Linked DNA regions of Homo sapiens: region 2 is linked to region 1. Evidence: promoter capture Hi-C in 16 types of primary human blood cells and fetal thymus (Javierre and others, 2016). All regions are on one chromosome and are shown on one strand. Each heading gives the region's core, a stretch centred on a gene start or on the middle of the fragment in contact. The rest is flanking DNA. Distances are from core to core; before and after follow the strand shown. Region 1 holds the start of EXOC3L4 (exocyst complex component 3 like 4). Region 2 holds the start of TRAF3 (TNF receptor associated factor 3).

Region 1 (3,426 bases), core at 224-2,723:
CCTGGCCTCTCAGTGAGCCCCAGATCAGGCAAGCATTTGGTGGTGGGGGTCCTGCTCCCTGGCCTTCCCTACCTGGGAGCCAGGTCCTCAGCCAAGGTGAACCCATTTGATCCCGACGACAATCCCATTTTCTGGAGGAGTAAACTGGGGCTCAGAGATTGAGGTGCCTCTCCAAGGTCGTGGGGAGCTGGGCTTGCCCTCTGGTGGGTGTCCCTGGCTAGGCCTCTCCCTCCTAACGGCTCCCCACCCGGCCTTCTCCTGACCCCAGACCAACCTCGTGACCCAGGCTTCTTTGAGATAAGGCTGGGGTTTTTCCAAAGGGATTTTACTGAGAAACTTCGGGAAAACATGGACATAGCATGAAAGAAACATTGCAACCTCATGCTGAAAAGCGGGCACAGGCTCAGGTGCCTGTGGAGAGCAGATGGGAGTTGAGGGGACTTCCAGGAGCAGTCCCCAGGCCCTGGGCACCACCAGCTTTTCAGGCACCTGTGTATTGAATGGAGCGACCCATAATTGGAGGTCCCAGGACCCCAACATGCCCTGGGAGCTGGGGGGCGGGTGGGAGAATTAGACCGGGAAGTCTCCAGTCCACCAAGGCCTGGCTGTATGGGAAGACCCAGTCCACAGAGCCAGAGACCTAGGTCGCAGTCCTGGCCTCTCTGGGCACCTGTGTGGCCGAGAGCAGGTCACTGAGCCCTGGGGAGCCAGCCACCTTGGACCCCGGCTGTCTCTGCTCAGTTTTGCTTATTCCCTGTTACCCCTCATCTCTGCCTGTTGGAGACAGGTGGGGTGGGACTCAGGCCAGCAGGTGGGACTGGGCTGGGAGGAAGGGCCTATGGGCTGCTGGGCACCTCTCGGGCTTGAAGTGGGACTCTTAGCACCCCACTTCACAGAGGGAACCCAGGGCTCAGGGTAGTGACTCAAGTGGTTAATTGGAGGGCTTCCTGGAGGAGGTGCTGGCATCTTTGAGTCTAATTTGGCCCCTCTGCAGATGGTGCTGCAGCATCTCAGGCACCTTCCAGTCTGTTATGGGCTGCTTTTCCCCCATAAAATTCGTATGTTGGGCTGGGCGCGGTGGCTCACGCCTGTAATCCCAGCACTTTGGGAGGCCTAGGCAGTCCAATCACCTGAGGTCAGGAGTTCAAGACCAGCCTGGCCAACATGGTGAAACCCCGACTCTACTAAAAATACAAAAATTAGCCGGGTGTGGTGGTGCGTGCCTGTAATCACAGCTACTCAGGAGGCTGAGGCAGGAGAATCACTTGAATCCAGGAGAATCACTTGAATCCAGGAGGCAGAGGTTGCAGTGAGCTGAGATCGCGCCACTGTACTTCAGCCTGGGTGACAGAGAGAGACTCCGTCTCCAAAAAAAAAAAAAATTCGTATGTTGAAGTCCCAATCTTAGAATGTGACCTTATTTGGAAAATTCCTTATAAAAACACGTGACCTTTAAAGAGGTAATAAGTTAAAATTAAGTCATTCGGGTGGACCCCAACCCATATGAAGAGGAAATATGGACACAGACACGAAGTGGGAAGGCCCTGTGTTGACCCAGGAAGAAGGGGGGGCGCTACCCACAGACCCAGAAAACAGCCCCAGGAGAAACCAGCCCCACACATGCCTTGACTGTGGGCCTCTGGCTTCCAGAACTGGGAGAGAATAAACGTCTGTTGTTGAGGCTCAGTCCCTGGTCCTGTCGTGGCAGCCCTAGGACACTGGATGCATGGGGCCGTCCCTGCCCTCAGCCCTAGGATGCTGGTGCACTGGCCTGTCTCTGCCCTCAGCCCTAGGACAGTGGGTGCATGGGGCCGTCCCTGCCCTCAGTCCTAGGATGCTGGTGCACCGGCCTGTCTCTGCCCTCAGCCCTAGGACACTGGGTGCATGGGGCCTTCCCTGCCCTCAGTCCTAGGATGCTGCTGCACGGGGCCACCTCTGCCCTCAGCCAGAGGATGCTGGTGCAGGAGGCTATTTCTGCCCACCTCAGCACCCTGCAGCAGCCCCATCACACACCCTGGTGGCCCCAGCCCAGGTTGGGACAGGCCTGGATCCGTTCTCCTTGGATTTTCCCTGAGTTGTTTCCTAAGACGCTCGCTGCGGAATCCCCCTATGCAGGGGTGAGGCTGCCTCTTCTGGGAAGTGTCAGTGGCCCTCCCTGCGGCACGTTGCCCGCCTGACCCCCTGGTGTGGGGAGTGGGGCCCCGCCTCCACATCTTTGCCCCTGCCCAGGATGCCGTCCCTTCTCACTTCTGAGTGTGTCCTGTCTGTCCCTAGGGCCCCATCCCTTTCTCTAGCTCCTGAAGCCCCCAGGAATGGCATGTGGCTCTCAACTGCTGCCTTTGCTGTCACCGTGAGCTTCCCTGACAGGCAGGGTGCAGGGGTCTCGGGATGAACTCGATGGACTGGCCCAGTGCTAGAGCCTCTGTCCTGGAGGGAGGGGTCCTTCTGGGCTCCGGCACTGTGGGCTGAGTGTCCCCCGAGGCCAGCGCCTGCTTCCGCTGGCCTCTGAGCAAAGGAGAGGTTGGTGGTGTTTTGGGTGGCAGGCAGCGTCCACCCCCTGCTGCCTCGAGACCCTGAGTGCCGAGCTCCGCAGCCTTCCCCTCCCTTGTTCTCTGACCCTTGGACTGAGCCCTGAGCTGTCTGGAATGGAAAGCTGGAGTGACTGCCTCCGGAACGAAAAGGAAGTGGGAACTTCTCTGAAAGTGAAAGTATGGGGTCCTGGTGGAGGGTAGGGCTGTGGGTGGGGCCGGGTGGGCCTGGCAGGCGCTGACCATGGCTGGGAAGTCCCAGCTGTTGGTCACTCGCTCAGGCTGCTCTAGAGGCCCCATAGCCAGGGCCCGGCTCTGAGGGCCCCACGGGCCAGCTTCTCAGGGGGCTGTGTTCTTCCTGGGCCAAGGCTGCGTGCTCAGCAGGTATGTTCTGGGCAGGTGGAGCAGGAGGGCATGGGGTGCTGTGGGCGGGCTTGAGGACCATTCCGGCTCTGCGTGTGGCCTTCCAGGCCAAGGGCCTCACTCAGAGCCCAGGCCGACCAGGCCAGAGGGCCAGCGCAAATCACAGTGGACACACACACACCCGATACACAGGCAGACACACTCAGGTAGAAAGCACAGATAGACAGACACAGAAGACACCAAGATGGGCATGCAGGCACAGACACAGACTCAGAAGCACTGGCAGACCCTCTGGGGACACTCCAGGGCAGAGTCATGCACATACAGGGAGACACTCTCAGGCCAACACACAGATGTGCAAAACCGACGCCCAGAAAAGTGTGTATATGCCCGCGCGCTCAAGCTCAGGCATCAGATTCACTTTCCTGGTTTCCCCGGGAAAGTGCCGAGTACTAGCCATGGCTGGGGGCTGAGTCAGGCTCACTCCCTGCCTTGCGGGTCTCCTGGTCTCCAGGCTCTGTAACTGTCCCTCCGT
Region 2 (3,380 bases), core at 724-3,223, 320 kb before region 1:
TGGGTTCAAGTGATTCTCTTGCCTCAACCTCCTGGGTAGCTGGGATTACAGGCACACTCCACCACGCCCGGCTGATTTTTGTGTTTTTAGTAGAGACGTGGTTTCACCATGTTGGCCAGGCTGGTCTCGAACTCCTGACCTCAGGTGACTTGCCTGCCCGCGGCCTCCCAAAGTGCTGCAATTACAGGTGTGAGCCACCATGCCCGGTCCATGTCCTGCTTCTTTTAAAACAACCAAAAATAGTCCAGCCTAGGAAAGGGAGTCTTTCCTGATTTTGGCAAAGTTAAACCAGGCCATAGGTAACACACAGCATAAGGCAGGCGTTGGGAGTGGGCCCCAGTCGACAGGGTGCCAGGACTGTGGGCTAAGCAGGGCTGGGGACATGGGAGGCCTCAGTGCCTGGGCTATGGGAAGTGGTTGGGACCCTGAGCCTGAGGTCAGTAACATCCCAACTCCTGACAGGCAAGAAAGGGCACCTGAGGCTCCCAAGGGGAGTCCACCATGGGGGTGGGGGAGACCGCTGGAGTCCATAGGTCCCTGTGAGGGACGGCGAAGGCGGGCCTGTCACCTCTAAAAGAGCTGTGCCTGTGGCGCAGACGGGGGTGCCACTGTGGCCTGGTGAGTGTGGCTGTAGAACAAGCATCTGTTGGGCTAATGGAGCCAGAGACATGGTCCAATGTCTCTGATGTCCAGATAGACTTCCAGCAGCCAGGTCGGACTATCTGGGGTTCTGGAACGTTCCATGGGTGAAGCTGTAGGAGGAGATGCTGGACTTCCTGCCTCCACTCACATGAGTCACTGGAGCAATACAAGAAGGCAGACTGGCCTTGGCTACTCACACTGGTCTCAGCTCTGGGGTAGGGCTCTTTATAAGCCTTCTTGAGAAGTGAAAAATGCAAAGTCCTTTCTGTCCCCTCACCACTGACTTGCAAACTCCAGCGAAGGCCTCACCCCTCAGCTGGCCCAGAGCCTCCCAGAAGCCCTCCCTTCGCTTCCCACCTCGCCAGGCCCAGCCAGGCTGGGTGCTGCCTTGGTGGGCCTAGGTGAATCACTGACACACCACTGATGCCTTTGGGGCAGAAGGCAGAGGCCTCGGGAGAAATGCGCAGGCCCCAGCGGCCTGGTGGAGGGTGCAGGGGGCGCAGGGGCAGCCAGGACCGCCGAGGACGCTGGGGGCACGTGGCAAACTGGCTACCCTGTCCACCCGTGAGCAAGACACCACTCCGGGGGCGTGGGAGGGTCCAAGGGAGGGAGAAAGGAAAGTGCCACCAAACTAATGTGGAGCCCTGCCCTCTGCATGCGAAAAGGGGCTCCACGGCCTGAGTCACCCTCAGCCCCACCTGCGTGTGCGCGAGGGTGCGTGGCCTGGTACGCGTGCGCACGGTGTTGGTGAGCGTGTGTGTGCGTGTCCGCTTGAGGGGAATGTGACCGTCGTGTATGCGTCCGCGACAGTGCGGGGGGCCGCATATCGGACCCGTGCGTGTGCGTAGGGGTCGCGTGTGGCCATGGGCACACGGGCGTGCACGCACGGGGGCTGCGTATGCTATGCTGGCGTGGGGGGTGCGGGCGAGGTGGCCGCGGGGAGGAGCGGCGCCAGCACCTCTCGGCCCCCACGCGGCCTGCGTGGCTTTTTGACCCGGAAAGGCGGGGACGCGGGGACGCGCGGCGGCGGGGGCGCGGCGGGGGCGGCGCAGAGCGAGGAGGCCCGCGGGGCGCGCGGCGGGGACGGGAGGGAGGCGGGGGGCGCCCGGGGCCGTCCCCGCCCCGCGCCGCGGCGCCGCCGTTGCTAAGGCCGGGCGGGCGGCCGCCGGGCGCTAGGGCCCTTAGCAACGGGTCGCGGGCGCGCGCGGGGGGCCGGCGGGCGCGTGGGGCCGGCGGCGCTCGCGGGCTCCTGCCGCTCCCACGCGCGCGGGCGGCGGGGGCGGGGCGGCGGGCGCGCCGGGGATTTCCAGCGCGCGAGAGGAAGTGCCTGCGCGGGGCTGCGTGAGGGAGCGAGGGAGCGAGGGAGCGCGGCGCGGCCGCCGCGTGCGCGAGCCGGGGTTGCAGCCCAGCCGGGACTTTCCAGCCGGCGGCAGCCGCGGCGGCCGCCGGCTCTTCCCCGCCCCCCGCCATGGGGCAGCCCGGGGAGCAGAACGCTGCGGACCGCGGCGGAGGACGCGCCCGGCGCCCCTGAGCCGGCCGAGCGGCGACGGACCGCGAGGTAAGGGGCCGCGGCGGGCGGGCGGGCCTCCGGCGCGCGGCCGGGCGCCTCCATCCCCGTCGCCTCCATCCCGCGCCCTGGGCGGCGGGGCCCGGGGGCCTCGGGGCTGCCCGGCGCGGGCCCGGCGCGGCGCAGGCCCGGCCCGTCCCAGCGGCGACGGCGGGGCGCGGCTTCAGCCTGGCCCCGCGCCCCAGCCGGGCTGCCTCCCGCCTCCGGACGCCTCAACTTCGGCAAACTTTGTCCCGGAGGCCGGGCTCGGGGCCCGAGGGGGCCGGGGCGCCCGCACCTTTTCAGGAAACGGGGCGCGCAGGCCTCGCTACGGCCGTGACCCCCGCTGGCGTTGAGGACCCGGCACCCCGCGGGGCCGCGGGTTTCACGCGGGGGGACGGGCGGCTCAGGGGCTGCGTGGCCGAGCGCGCTGCCCGGGCCGGCCGGGGGGGCCCGGGCGTTATTGGAAAGTTGGTCCTGAGTCATTCCGCCTCAGAGGCGCCTCCGACCGCTTGGCGGGCGGCGCGGGGGTCCGGGTATGGGCAGAGGGCGCGAATCCCCCTCGCGCGGCCGCCGAGGGCCGGCGACTCCCGGGGCACCGGGCGGCTCCTGGCCGCGGGCTCTGCGTCTTCCCCGCGGGCGCCAGGCGGCTCTCGGCGGGCTGGCCGGTTCCACGCCGCCAGCCAGCCCCGTGTGGGGACTTCGGTCTAGTATTTGGACCCGAGGAGATAATTCTGTGTGGAAAATTCTCTCCCTTCGGTTGGAAACAGTAACAAACTGGAAACGGATGAGGTGTTATGGACGTGCTTGGAAATGCAAGAAACCTTCAGATTACGAGCTGTTGACGGGACCAGTTGTATTTCACGTTTTTCGAATTAAGCTCAGAATCAGTTTTCAGAATGACATGTGATGCGTGGTGCGTGGTGTGTGTGCCTGTGTGTGTGTATGGATATAATTCATTCATTTTTGTGGCGTCAGAAAGGTTATGTCGAGCGTTGTAGCGGCTTCTTAATTTACATTCACGGCATACAACTGAAGAGGAGCCATTATTTATTTTTTTTCCTAGCATTTGCTGCGACTACACACTGCCGGAGCGTTTGGAAATGTTGTTTGCTGTTACCCTGTATTTGTCTATAAAATTCTTACTGTAGGGAATGGCCAAGTGGACCATCAGTTCGTCCTGAGATCTTCT

The links. Contacts are between HindIII fragments. The CHiCAGO score rates a contact against its expected background, and 5 or more counts as called.
Region 2: a contact is called between the fragment with the promoter of TRAF3 here and a fragment that was not itself captured in region 1, in 1 of 17 cell types (total B cells). The highest score is 5.3, in total B cells.

Annotation. Positions count from the first base shown.
Region 1 is chr14:103,091,929-103,095,354 of GRCh38, forward strand. EXOC3L4 (exocyst complex component 3 like 4) reads left to right here and starts at 2,797. Exons shown (of 12, transcript NM_001077594.2): 1 at 2,797-2,912. RefSeq lists enhancers at 13-192, 1,666-2,235, 2,806-3,375. The HindIII fragment of the contact is 5,265 bases long and covers 1-3,426 here.
Region 2 is chr14:102,775,476-102,778,855 of GRCh38, forward strand. It overlaps TRAF3 (TNF receptor associated factor 3), which reads left to right and starts at 1,974. Exons shown (of 12, transcript NM_145725.3): 1 at 1,974-2,200. RefSeq lists an enhancer at 547-786 and silencers at 1,497-1,556, 1,647-2,256, 2,467-2,516, 2,757-2,816. The HindIII fragment of the contact is 6,975 bases long and covers 1-3,380 here.